Regions from separate parts of the Homo sapiens genome. Here region 1 is linked to region 2. Evidence: promoter capture Hi-C in human tissues and cell types (Jung and others, 2019). All regions are on one chromosome and are shown on one strand. Each heading gives the region's core, a stretch centred on a gene start or on the middle of the fragment in contact. The rest is flanking DNA. Distances are from core to core; before and after follow the strand shown.

The links. Contacts are between HindIII fragments. The study calls those that stand out against the background at their distance.
Region 1: a fragment that was not itself captured here is called in contact with the fragment with the promoter of CMTM8 in region 2 in 1 of the 25 tissues and cell types used here (mesenchymal stem cells).

The regions. Positions count from the first base shown.
Region 1 is chr3:31,544,549-31,551,786 of GRCh38, forward strand. The region is part of intron 1 of STT3B (STT3 oligosaccharyltransferase complex catalytic subunit B); the gene reads left to right. Among named protein-coding and RNA genes, the nearest start is that of STT3B, 15 kb to the left of the region's middle. RefSeq lists an enhancer at 2,887-3,056. The HindIII fragment of the contact is 3,366 bases long and covers 1,576-4,941 here.
Region 2 is chr3:32,236,858-32,244,145 of GRCh38, forward strand. CMTM8 (CKLF like MARVEL transmembrane domain containing 8) reads left to right here and starts at 1,823. Exons shown (of 4, transcript NM_178868.5): 1 at 1,823-2,262. The coding sequence starts at 2,116. It also overlaps the pseudogene SMIM11P2. RefSeq lists a silencer at 1,627-1,836. The HindIII fragment of the contact is 9,285 bases long and covers 1-7,078 here.

The DNA of each region.
Region 1 (7,238 bases), core at 2,009-4,508, 690 kb before region 2:
GATCTCACAAGATGTTTTTGCTTTTAAAAATGTGTGCTGTTTTAAAAACAAATCTTTGTCCATCAGTGTGCCTTTAAAAAAATCTATTACAGTGAGCAGGGTTTGTTGAAGACATTGACACTTAAAGCATTTGCACGGGGCGCGGTGGCTTATGCCTATAATCCCAGCACTTGGGAGGCCGAGATAGGCGGATCATGAGGTCAAGAGTTCCAGACTAGCCAGTTTGAGACCAGCCTGGCCAACATGATGAAACCCTATCTCTACTAGAAATACAAAAATTAGACGGGCTGAGGCAGGAGAATTGCTTAAACCCAGGAGGCAGAGGTTGCAGTGAGCCGAGATTGCACCACCGCACTCCAGCCTGGGTGACAGAGCAAGACTCTGTCTCAGGGAGCGGGGGGGGAACATTGCATATGCTCTTAATTTTTAAAATTTAATAACCTTGTTCCATATAAGTTTAATTGCAATCCCAAGATGATTTTTACTCTAGACCATCGCTAAAGAAGGCTTTTATTTTAATATGCTAAGCAGCTTTATGGCATTTGAAGGAACAGGATAATGAAACTGTGAAGTAGATGAAATAAATCTAATCTTAAAACTGTAAAGGCCAGTCATAAGTCATGAGTTTGAGGAGCAACTAAAATCTTTTTAAATAAGGATTTTTTTCTAAAGTTGTTAAAATGAATCAGTCACTTCATTAGAAAGGAAGATCTTTTCACCTGTTTAAATACTTTATTTTGGCTGTTAAAATAATTTACTGCATTTCAATGAAGTGTCAAATAGAAACAGCTGTTATATGAAAGGTTTTCCTTTTGGAATAATCATTCTGGACATTTGAAAAGAGTATGTAACATTAAGTGATGTTATAACTGTGTAAGAATCACAACATAATATACAGTTATAAATAAATTTTAAATAAATTGAAGTATATTTAACATACAACTTGCATATATAATGGGCTGTCATATTCTATATATAATTATAAAACTTAATGATAAATACTTGTGAACCTCCTAGCCAACCACAAAACCAGAACATTACCAATTTTACATCTGGCTGTGTTTCTTCTTTAGCCTGTCCCCTTAGTTTCCCCCTTAGCACTAGGCAACATTATGCTGAATTTTGTTTAACGTTTCCATTGCTATCTTTTAATAAAACTCTCATATGTATATATCTGTAAACCAAGCTTGTCCACCCTGCAGCCCAGAGCGGCTTTGAATGTGGCTCAACACAAATTTGTAAACTTTCTTAAAACATTAGGAGTGGTTTTTTTTTTTTTTTTTTAAGCTCATCAGCTATCGTTAGTGTATTTTATGTGTGGCCTAAGGCAATTCTTCTTCCACTGTGGCCCAGGGAAGCCGAAAGATTGGACACCCCTGCTGTGAAAACAATATATTGCTAATTTTTGCTTTGTTTGGAGCTTAAAAAATGGTATTAGCTTATTTATCCTCCTCTTTGACTTTCATTTATACATCTGTTAGTTGACAGACATTTGAATATCCAGTTTTTTTTCTATTGTGAAACATGCTACTATGAACATTAAAACTGTTTTCTGATGCATATGTGTGGATGTTTGCTGGGGTATATACCTGGGAGTGGGATTTTGTCAAAATATGCTTCAGTTATTTATGAAAATATACCACTCCAAAACTTAGTGACAAAACAGCATTTTATTATTTCACAATTTTGTGGGTTGAGTGGGGAGTCCTTCAGCTTCATGTGTCAGCTGAGGTGCTGAGATGATTGTAGTCACCTGGAGGCTCAATAGGCTGTAGTCAGCTGGGACTAGAATGTTTGGGATGCCTGGACAGCTGAGAGTCATCTGGAATCTTGTTCCATTGGGACCTCAGCTGGGGCTTTTGGCTCCTCCATGTGACTGCTTAGTCTGCCTCAGCATTGCAGCGGGGTTCTGAGAAAGAACATTTCAAAGGGGGAGAAAGCTGCCAGGTCAACTAAGGGTTAAGCTTGGAATAGACACAAGTAACTTCAGCTATATTTTGTTGTTCTCAAAATACACACAGACCTAGCTCAATGTTGAGAGGAGATGCATATACAGGTAGGGGCAGAATTGTTTAAGGTCATCTTTGGAAACACTTACCACAATGTGTTTATCATTTTTATCTCCCGTAAAATATCTGTTCATGTCTCTCCCAAAGTTTTAGACTGGGTTGTTTAGTCTCACTAATTTAGTAGGAGGTTATATGTATATGTATTTTGCATCCTAAGTCTGGGTTAAATTTGTTGCAGATATCTTATTCCAGTTTGTGCCTAATTGGTCCTTAAAGCAATCCTATTAGATATTTTATTGCCCCCATTTTACAGATGAGAGAGTACTGCTTAGTATGTTAAAAGGAAAGGCCTTGAAGTCAGCCTCCAGGGTGACATTTTTGTTACAAAGAATAGCATTTGCAAAGGTGTACAATTATGAATCAGCATGATGCTTTGCTCAACCTACCTGTTGTACCCCTTCCCCTCCAAATAATTGAGGCTTGGAAGAATTTACAAGTATTTTTATTTACTTATAAATTTTTATGTAACTGTGACTTTTGCTATGAGTGGACTGAGGACGTTTGATGTGAGAGGACTTGCCTGGAGTGACAGAGTAGGCAGTAAGTTCAGCCCCAAGTTCTTTCTAGTCTTATCTGCCCTCCTTATTCCTCAATTTTTTTTCCCTAAATTATTCGTTTGGATCAACCAGGTTCTGCCAGCATATTCAAAATCCATCTTAAATGTAGTGGCGAAATATTTTGCAAAATTATAATAGAAGCCAGAGATTTATAATTAATATTCAAATGTTTGCATTATATACTTTAAAAAGAACATTGCAGGTCGGGTGCGGTGGCTCACACCTGTCATTTCCACACTTTGGGAGGATCACTTGAGGTCAGGAGTTCGAGACCAGTCTGGCCAATATGGTGAAACCCCGTCTCTACTAAAAATACAAAAAATCAGCCGGGCATGGTGGTGCATGCCTGTAATCCCAGCTACTCGAGAGGCTGAGTCACAATAATTGCATGAACCCTGGAGGCGGAAGTTGCAGTGAGCTGAGATCGTGCCACTGCACTCCAACCTGCATGACAGAACGAGAGTCCATCTCAGAAGAACGCTGTAGGCACGCATCAAGTACAACTCAGTTGGTTTAAACTGAAATGCCACAGAACAATTCTGAATTCCAAAATGCAAAGCTTTGGATAAAACAGCCTGAACAAGTACAAAAAGACAATAAATTTGTAGACACTTCTTCCCAACCTTCAAATTAGGAAGATTTGTTCTGTGTAAAAGTATAGTTTCTGATCCTTAAAATTCTATGTGTTGAAGGCACCTCAGCATATCTCTGCAGTGTAAAAGCAGTGCTTCAGGCAGCATGACTTATTTTCATGTCACCTCAGATTTCTTGGATCTAATATTCAAAGACAGAGTGGAAATAATAATACTTAGTGGAAGGATTCTTGGACATGTAATGAAATGCAGAGCATCTTGAGACTTTTGACCAAGTAATGTTTGGTCATTTACCTTCCTGTTTGGTTGGAACAGGAGTGGTGATTCCAGCCATTGCATGATTGAGCCTCATTTGTTTTTATTCTTTCCTGCCCCGAATTCTTCCATTTTAAGTGTCTTAAAGAGGTAGTTATTCTTGCCTAAGAAGTAAACTAAAGTATAACATATTTGCTATAATAATGCTGATATAATGTTACTGTGATAAAGTATAAGTGTCAAGTAGTTTGGCAAAAAGATTTCACCAGGTTGAGCATAGTAACACAGGGAAAATGAGCCATTTAAAACAGGGAAAAAAAATGTTTCTGTGAAACCGGGGAGAAAAAAACAGCCATTTTTTTCCCTGTTTTACAAATGACTCATTTGTAAAATAGGGAACAAAATGAGCCCATTTAAAATTTAATAAATGTATTTTTAACATTTGTATTCTCAAAATAAATTTTAAAATAGAGTATACCAAACATGCTATTCTCTGAGGAGTTTAATGCATGTTATTATTTTACAGAAATTTAAGTTATTTTAAATATGTTAAGGATGGTAAAGCTTCCCTATAGTTCAGTATTGACCACCTCTCCTCAACCTGTCTCTAAAGGTAGGAGAAAACTGATTTATTCTCCTTGTATTCTCTTCTTTCTCTGCTCCGTCATTAGTTTGCTGATATTTTCTGTTCGGAAAGGGGGTGAAGAACCTTCCCCCCTTTGAGGGAGATAAGTTTTGGTTTCCCTGTAATATGGAACAAACTTCATACCTGGCGAGCACAAAGAAATTATTATTTTGCCAAAGTATGTTCTGCAGACCACATATTCCAGAAATTACACTTCTAAGCAAAATAATCTTTGATAATTTGAATTTGGGAAAAAAACTGCTTACTACATTCTTTGATACTGATATGCAATACACATTACCATGTTACAGTCTTAAGAAGTTGTTCAGTTAACTGTTAATTTTATTTAATCTGGTATTTACCGTATTTAATTTATGAATCACTGTAAGATTTTAATTTTTTTTTAATTAATGTTCCATGCAATTCATGGAAAAGACTGATGTAGATGTTTTATTTGATAGATGAGGAGCCTGAGGCCTAAGGCTAAGTAACTTTACCAAAGTCGTAGAGATAATAAAACTAGGACTGACTTTCTTCAGTGTTTTAAATCTTTTTATTTGTTTATTTGAATTACTGCATTAGGAACAAGTATATCCACATTAGGAACATACTTTTTTTTTCAAATGGGACAGTTGAGTATCTGCTCATTGATAGCATCCCCCCTGATTCTCCTGATTTGTCTTGGTGACTAAGTTGAGTATTATACCACTAACTTCTATGATAGTTAAGTTCTCAGGCCTGTATACATTGCTTATTTTGAGTGATTGTTTTATTTTAGTTTACCTTGTGCTGTTGCTTTCCACCGAGACTGTCCTCAGAAAGTTGGTCATTTTGCTTATGAGTTTATTAGTTGTCCAACCACTTTGGCTCTTTCATCACACCAACTTGTGGGCCATGGGATATTATTACTATGGATAATGCTTGTTAGTTATACATTTTATATTTATAGTATATGACTATGGGTCTGACTTAAACGTGTATTATGTATTTCTATATCTAATAATTGTTAGAAATCCTCTTTATATAGTATAATGCATAATCATATGTCTAATTTAGATAATATCTAGTAACAATAAAGAAATGTAAATATAACATGTTTACATATAATATTTATTGGAGATTTGTTTCTATAATATATGAATAGTTATGCCGGACTTAAATATATGTTATACACGTTGTGCGTGCGTTATATAAAGAGAAAGAACACTTGTGCCCATCCCTTCTGCCTACATTATTTAGATTTCCATCTCTATTGGGCTTAGCTGAGCAAAGTGTCACCGGATAGTTTTAATTGATCAAATATACTATTTTGTATGTGATCTTAGATTTTTTTTTCAGATTTTTTTAGTGCCATTAAAATGCTCTAACAGCCTCTTATTTTGTTGTAATTTTTTTTGTTGTCAGTTGCTTTTTCTTTTTTCCAATTAGTTTAGTAAATGTCCTTTATAAATCAGAATAGACCCTCCTTTTTCAAATGGATACTGATAAAAATTGACAGCTGTCACTGCCAGTTAAGGCAGAAATTAAGAGATGGTACTAAAATAGGAATCCTGTTTTCAGTTAATGTGTGTTTAAAAGTTTTGCCCTGTGTGTTCTTTTTTGATTTGCACATGCATCTGACTTTAAATTGGAAGATGCAGAGTAGCTCTAAGGAGTCTTCAAGACATTTTTGCAGCCTTTAAACAACCTTTGGTTTTCTCTCTGTGTTGCTCAAAGTAGAGAGACAGGTACTTTGTTATCTGAAGCTTATGACATGCTCTCTGCTTCAATCAAAATGACCACCCATCAGTTGCAAGAGCAGAGAGAGAGGTTTGTGAGAGTAGTCTGAGATCCAGTTGCAACTGTACAGTGTCACATTTATGGTGGTATGACATTTGTGAGTCTTTCCCTTCAGAGTTAACCTAGTAAAAAAAGTTATTCTCATATATCATTAGTAATCCTTATGAATTTCTATCATTGTTTTCCTGCTGTTACTTAAACACTGATAGGAATTTATGTAATCATATTAGGCTTGAGCATAACTCTCTCATGAGTTTCCATATTTTAAGTTATAAAATTGGCTATGTTTAATGTGATTATCTAGACAGTGCTCGTGTGTATCACTTGGTGAGATTGAATTTAGGCTGTTTTTTTCGTTCTATTGAAGGGGGATTTTTTTTTTCCATGTGTTACTTTTAATAGAGTTCATCAGTCTGGCATCCTTTTGTTTTTGATCCTGCCACTAGATGGCAGGAGCAATAAAAGGTAGATTGAAATGCCAACTTTAGTTGGCCTTAGCTGCTTTGTACTTTACCTTGGTTGTTCTCTGTCCCTATTAGTGCTGAATTTTGGGTATATATGAAGTGTTGCAAATAGTGGTACTTAGTCCTATAAGAAAGATCTGGTACCTTATATAGCCTGAGAGGGCCTACTAATAGGGTAAAGGAGAAAGAATAGAATAATCCTTGAGGTGTTCTAACACTTTGTCTTTTGCCTTTTACTTTTCTATTTTTCTTCTCCCTTTGTTGAATTGTACTCCTTTCCTTTATTTCCTGATTGTGGTTTTTGGGTGTTTTTTGTTTGTTTGTTTGTTTGTTTGTTTGGTTTTTGATAGGGTCTTGTTCTGTCACCCACAGTGGAGTGCAGTGGTGTCATCTCGGCTCACTACAACCTCCGCCTCCCAGGCTCAAATGATCCTCCCACCTTAGCCTCTCAAGTAGCTGGCACTACATGCGCATGCCACCACGCCTGGCTAATTTTGAAAAATTTCTGGTAGAGACAGGTTTTGCCATGTTGCCCAGGCTGGTCTTGAACTCCTGGGCTCAAGTGATCCACCCACCTTGGCCTCTCAGAGTGCTGGGATTACCTGCATGAGCCACTGTGCCTGGCCTCTTTCCTGATTCTTTTATGCTTACGTTAGCATCCATAATTGGTCATTTCTGTTGGTGGTACTAGTCGCTTTCTCATTTACCGTTCCCACGAATACATGTTAACTTGGCCAGTTTTGGTAGTCGTATGTGTAACAACAAACTGTTATAGGTGGCTTTGTAAATCTTTACAGAAAGGGTTATTTTCAAGAGAGCCTGTTAATTGATAGTCTTTGAAGAACAGAGTGATAGACAGAGTCTAGGGTGATGGGATGTTGCTTCCGTGATTATGT
Region 2 (7,288 bases), core at 573-3,072:
AATCTGAATTTAGAAATTCATCTGACCCCAGGAATTTTAAGAGAGGATTGTCCTTTGTTAATATTATGGAAATAAAGTTGTCTAGACTCCGTCTTTTACGTTCACTAAATGTCATGCATAATGCTTGAGTCTCCTCCAGCCATTTCATGTATGTATCTCTTATTTCCCCAAACTCATTAACAGTTTCTCTAAAGCAGCAGCTAACTTCAGCATGCATCAGTGTCTTTTGGAGGGCTTGTTCAAACACAGCTTCCTGGCTCCACCCTCAGAGTTTCTGATTCAGAGGGTCTGGGGGTGGGGCTTGAGACCTTGCATTTTTGATAAGTTCCCAGGGAACTTACCTGCTGTTGGTCCAAGGACCACTTTGAGAACTACTGCTCCAGGGAGAAGTGCTATATTTTAAATTTTAAGAATTTACCCACCAGCCCAAGGTGCTTACCAAATGCACATGGATGGAATCTCTCCAAATCTACATCTTTGCCATGCTTTTGAAGCCTTAACTTTTACTCCTGGAGGTCTTCCTGGCTAGGCCCTAGACTTAAAAGACACTAATTCCTTGTTTTATTTTATTAGATTGTCGTTTTTGCTTTCTTCTCAGCACACTTGATAAGACACTGTGAAGAAAATGTCCCTTCTGATCTCGTTTTTAACCTGTCTTGGAACAGATCAGCAGAAATGCCTTCACTGTGAATCAAAGATACCCTCGATTTATAGCCAAAGATTATTTCCTTTTCTTTTGGTGGCTTCCAGATAAAATGTTTCTTGCTACCCTTTCACAAAATAGAAGGAGGGACCAAGCGGAAGATAATCTTTTTGTTCAGAGGTCCATCTGTCAAAGCCTGCATTTTAGAGATGGCATTACTGAGGTCCAAAAACTAGAGCCACTCGCTCTGGGTCATACAGCCGATAAACGCACGCAGCCGAGCTCAGTTCTTCCCTGACCCTGTTACAAACTGCCTCACTAAATGAGGACCCCCATCCCCTTCCCATGCCAGGAAAGCACAGCTCATTTGTCCTAAAGTTAACATTACACAAATCACACCCTTCAAGCCTTCTTGAAACATTTTTTTTCCCCGAGGGTGACGGGACGGTTACGCTGATTCATCCTGGCCAGGGACCCCAAACATCTCCCCTCCTCCGGCCCAGGCGCCGTCACCCAGGCTCCACCGGTCCGCGGGACAGAGCCGCGGAGAGCGCCTGGAAGCGTCGCGCCCTCAAAGCCAAGCGATTAAGTTGGTTCCTCAAATTGTTCCCGACAGGAGGGGCAGGAAATAACACCGGGCTCTGGCGGCGGCCGCAGCAGGAGGGGGAGAAGAGCGGGCCGTCTCCCGGGCAGTGCTGGCGGCCTCTCATCGATCTCGGGTCTAAGGTCCGGCCGGGTCATCATTCCTGCCATTTCCACAGCATTCGAGGTACCACATCACCCCCTGCCTCGGTCGTCGCTCAGTCATTCCCTCCGCGCCGAGTCCTGGAGCGGCGGAGTCCCTGGAGGCCTGGGTTTCCTTAAGGGGCCCCAATGCCCGCAGCCCCCGACCCGCCCAGGTGGAAGGAAACAGGCTGCGGGCCTGGGCCAGGCGGGGCCTGACAGAAGTAAAGGCCGGGAGGGGGAGCGGAAGACGGCCAGAAGGACCCCTGCGCCCTCTCCTCCGCGCCGCCCGCCAGGCTGCCAACCCAGCCACCCTGGGTGCGACGCGGCGCCTTCTCCGCCGCTGGGAGTCGGGCAACAGGTGAAGAGGGCGGGCGTCCGCGGCGCCTCCGCGGGGCGGTCCCTCTCCTGCCCGCCTCCCGCCCGCCCCTCTCCCCGCCCCCTCCCCTCCTCCGGGCCTCCACCGCCTTCCCCGGCTGCCCGGCAGCCTCCCCTCGCTCGCTCTCCTCTTCCTCTAGGGCCCCAGCGCAGCTCGGGAGCCCGCGCACCGAGGCGCTAGGGGCACCGCGCACTAGAGGGACACCCGCCGCGCCTGGACAGCCCCCGGCGGGCGCCCCCCTCGCACCTCCTGCCCCGCGCGGGCCGCGCTCCCCTCCCCCGCGCCTGTGTCCCCAGGGCGCAGGGCCGCGCGTCCAGCCCCAGACCCGCCGGGGTCCCTGGGGACGCGCCAGCCCGGCAGTGGCTCGACGATGGAGGAGCCGCAGCGCGCCCGCTCGCACACAGTCACCACCACCGCCAGCTCCTTCGCAGAGAACTTCTCCACCAGCAGCAGCAGCTTCGCCTACGACCGGGAGTTCCTCCGCACCCTGCCCGGCTTCCTCATCGTGGCCGAGATCGTGAGTGCCGACGGGCCGGGGGTGGCGGGGGGCTCAGCTGGACCCCGGCGCGTGCTTCCGCCGTGCTTCTCGGGATGGAGCCTGCTCAGATCTTCCCGCGGGCTTTAGGGAACCGTTTTTGCTCAGCCTCGCCTTCTTCCCAAAGTGAAAGACTCTAAACAAGGTCCAGGAAACTCGGGCTGTCCTGGGAAGAAAGGGTTGTGATCCTCAGGATGTCTTGCTGTGGGAGAAATTCAGCTTGTTGGGTCCTCTCGGTGGCGGCGGCAGATCCTGGGAGCAGGAAGCTTGGCTTAGTGGCTATTGAGTTTGTGTTGAGTGTCAGAGACACCTGGTGCCTTTCTCACCTGATCTCCACGTGGATGGCCTCCTCCCTGAAAATAAAGCTTCCTAAGATCAGGGGAAGAGGAAAGGGCTTCTTTCTTTTCCTAATTATCTCCCTGGTAGTAACATTGAGGTGAGTCAGGAAAATTTTACTGAATAAAATCTGAGTGCCATAACCTATTTTAGGACCAAAGAGGTCTTTTGCATGGTGCTGTGCACATCCTGGTTTAGGCTCAGAACATTCCTGGGAAGGAGGCAGGGCATGGGCGTTCTTCTCTTCATTGGAGGGCATAGAGGCTGAAAACTCACGTGATCTTCCCAGAAGTCCCAGCCAGTCCTTCATAGCTGAGAAAGGACTGGAGTCCTGTCAGCAGTTAGAGGTGGTCACTGTTTGAGTCTTCTTCGTGTACCAGGATCTTGTCAAGCCCTTTAGATGTCCTCATACCCTCGTGTAATCCAACGACCACCCTCCCCTGTGAAGGCCTAGAGAGGGGACGTAAATCACACCGGTGGATGGTGAAGCATGGATTCAAACCCAGGCCTGCCTTTCTGCAGGGCCGTGCTCATAACTGCAAGCAGTTGAGACAGCTTCCAGCTGCCCCAGCAGTGCCCCTCTGTCATCTCTCACAGACTTTTGTTAAATATTTGGGAATTGAAAATGAGCCTATGTGGGAGTTAGAGAATGGGCACACCATCATGGTGCAGAAGTGACTGAAGACCTGGGCGGTTCCTTTGAGAAACCTGAAGTAAATCTTGTGTACCTCAAGTAGCTTGCTTGCTCCCCCAGTCTCAGATACCACCCGGACCTGCTCTATGAAGCCCCTGGTGGTCATAATGCACATAAGGTATGAGAAGTGTTGGCTTAGCTCCTCTCCCAGCTGGTTCCCTCAGCGAGTATTGAGGACTTCAGGAGACTCAAAAGCTGAAGGTATTGGAATCGCCTTGCAGGGCCTAGCTTTTAGGAGTTCAACAAATATTTGCTGTGCAAATGAAGGAGTTGGCAGGCTCCTCTGCTTCAGCAGCGCAAACAAAAGCTAAAATGACAGAGATGGGCCTTCTACCTTGGGGTGGATTTGGGCCAGGCATGAAGTATAACGCCTTTGGGTTTTTTTCTGATTTATTATCGATATGCTCTGTGTACTGCGCTTTTTCAGGAAATACAAAAGTGAAAGAAATGTAAGTGGCCCACAATCCCATTACTAGAAATAATCACTGTTGACATGTTAGCATGTATCCTTTTAGATTTCATTAAGCGTTTTGAAAAAGATGGGAAAACATGTAAGCAAAATCACCCTTATTACTACTATAGTTTTTATTTTTGACAGAGCTAATTATGCACCTTTTTTGTTTGTTTTGTTTTGTTTTGAGACAGGGTTTTGCTCTGTCTCCCAGGCTGAGGTGCGGTGGCACCATCATGGTTCACTGCCGCCTTGACCTCTTGGGCTCAAGCGATCTTCCCATCTCAGCCTCCCAAGTAGCTGAGACCACAGGCATGCACCAACACACTTGGATAATTTTTAATTTTTTTCTAGGGACGGGGTCTCTCTGTGTTGCCCAGGCTGCTCTGAAACTCCTAGGCTCAAGCAATCCTCCTGCCTTGGCCTCCTAAGGTGCTGGGATTGTAGGCATGAACCACTGTGCCCCACCTTATGCACATATTTTAAAGATTCGGTCCTACAGGCAGAAATATAAGTTTCTCCCAGTGTCTTCATCTCTTTGAGCTCTAAACAACGTGTTTATAATGCTGTTTATTGGTGTTCCCTCACCCACCCAGTCATAGACATTATCCATTGCCTTTCTACTCTGAAAGATGAGGCTTTAGCTGGGATGCCCTCTTCCCTGCCTCCAATTATACATACCCTCTTCCTGTCTCCCAATATAGGTCCAAACACTTCTGATGGTTCAACTTAGGAATTTTCAGCTTTACAGATGTTGTAAAAGCAGTATGCATTCAGTAGAAATCATACTTCGAATTTTGAATTTTGGTCTTTTCCCAGGCTAATGATATTCGGTAGATATTTTTTCATGATGCTGGTCAGCTCTCAGCCACCCATGCCATCACCAGCGCAAACCACCCATCCTCTCCAGCATGCTGTGCTGCTGGGTGATTCTGCCAGCTGTAGGCTAACCTAAGTGTTCTGAGCACGTTTAAGATAGGCTAGGCTTAGCTATGATGTTTGGTAGGCTAGGGGTATTAAATGCATTTTTGACTTCGGATACTTTCCACTTAGGATGGGTTTATCAGGATGTAACCTCATTGTTAAGTCAAGGGGCATCTGTATAGTCTTCAGGTGATTTGGGTTAGATCAGCAGCCAGTGTTGACCTATGACACTGTAAATACCACTTACAACTGACCCAGTGCGTAGACTATGAATGCTTTTCCTTTCCTGCCCAATTTCTTGTTTGCCCTGGTGTTAGTAATTCTCTTTTCTCATTTCATAATTTCTCCAGATATTTAGTCACTAATTTAACCCTAGTTGTTTAAGTCTCCTATCAAGAAGCTGAGAGACATCAGGTATTCTGTCAGAATCGTCTTCATGACTGGCCTCTCTGGGAGCCTCTGGCCTGGTGGCCTGCACACAGCTGGCCGACTGGGCTCTCCTGCACCATCACTCTGAAGATTCTCTTCCTTTCTTTCCTGGGTTGGATCCTCTGCTTCCCATGTCCAGTGTCCTCTGTCTTGCTTTGCTCCCACTGGGGGGACACACAGCCTCTTGTAGTTTTCTAAGAAAGCATGCATGTGGAAATGGAAATTTGCACCTTTCAGAATAGCTTGATTCTATACACAATTCCTAGTTCAACTAGGTAGAGAGTGTTAGACTGAAAATGTTTTTCTTCAGAATTTAAAATGTATTCTTTTATTGTCCTTTAGCTATTCTGATTTAATTTTGTTTTGTTTTGTTTGAGACAGTGTCTTACTCTGTCATCAGGCTGGAGTGTAGTGGTATGATCACAGTGCAACCTACCCCTCCTGGGCTCAAGTGATCCTCCCACCTCAGCCTCCCAAGCCAGCTGTGACCACAGGCATGGGCCACCATGCCTGGTGGATGATTTTTTTGTATTTTTTGTAGAGACAGGGTTTCGCCATGTTGCTCAGGCTGGTCTCGAACTCCTGAACTCAAGTGATCTGCCCACCTCGGCCTCCCAAAGTTCTGGGATTATAGGCATGGGCCACTGCACCTGGCTGTAAAAATTTTTATTTCAATTATTTATCTCCCTCTACCCCCTGACTTCTGGAAATGTGTTGAACCTTCTTTTTCCCAGAGATCTAAAATATCACAATGATGTGCCTTCATATGAGTGTGTTTTCTCCCAGTGTACTGGGCACCTGGTGTGTTCTCTCAAATAAGGAAAATTCACGTAAGTTTCAGGAGACTCCTCCCCATTTTTACAAAGGTATTTTAGTAAACAAAATACAATTTTTTTTTTTTTTTGAGACAGAGTCTGGTTCAGTTGCCCAGGCTGGAGTGCAGTGGGTCTCATAATGTCACTCAGGCTGGAATTGCAGTAGTGCAATCCCAGCTCACTGCAACCTCTGCCTCCTGGGTTCAGGCAATTCTGGTGCCTTAGCCTCCCAAGTAGCTGGGATTATAGGCGTGCACCACCAAGCCTACCTAATTTTTGTATTTTTCATAGAGACAGGGTTTCGCCATGTTGGCTGGGCTGGTCTCGAATTCCTGACCTCAAGTGATCCACCTGTCTCAGCCTCCCAAAGTGCTGGGATTACAGGTGTGAGCCACCTCACCTAACCAAAATAAAATGATAGCTCTCTTAAAAGTTTATAAAAATAAACATTTATACATTGTTGGTCAGGCGTGGTGGTTCACACCTGCAGTCCCAGCACTTTGGGAGGCTGAGGCCAGCAGATTGCCTGAGCCCAGGAGTTTGAGACCAGCCCAGCCAACATGGCGAAAACCCATCTCTACTGAAAATACAAAAATTAGCCCAGCATGGTGCTGGGCATCTGTAGTCTCAGCTACTCGGGAGGCTGAGGCAGAAGGATCATTTGACCCCAGGAGGTCGAGGTTGCAGTGAGCTGGGATTGCGCCACTGCATTCCAACCTGGGTAACATTGTGAGACCCTGTCTCAAAAAAAAAAAAAAAAAAAATCACATTCTTTTAAAAGTATAGGTTGGGAGTGTATCCTCGGACACATTTTTGGATAATTGTCTTCTCTTCTCAGCTGCAGTCCACTCAGACTGACTTTTACATTGTGAATTCAGGAAGGCAGTACAGCTCACTGTGGTTGAATGCATTTGACCTGTGTTCAGTTTCTGGTTCTGCTCTTCACCATGTACAGTGTGAGCCATTCTTTCAATTCGAAAGTATCTCATAGAGTTGTCAGGACCCAAACAACACAGCTGTGCATGAAATGCTTAGCAAAATACCCTGGATTACTCTTCAGTTATCTCCTTCTCTCATTGATGCCTCTCTTCAGCTTCCAGTTTTGCTGTTTTGCTTCCAGCCTTTTCCTTTGGTATATTTTAACTCCAGCAAATGCCAGACAGAGAATTAATGGTTTCTCTGCCAAGATATTATAGCAGCAGGGATGAGTATTCAAGCATCTTCCAGTTCATGGTAGACCAACTTTGAATTCACTCCTGATCAACATAGCTGCCCCCTGCGCCGCCCTGACAAGTACGTGAGGAGAGGGAGCTGTGGAAGGTCAGGTCCAGGGAGCTAGAAGGTTTGATAGTTTCTGGC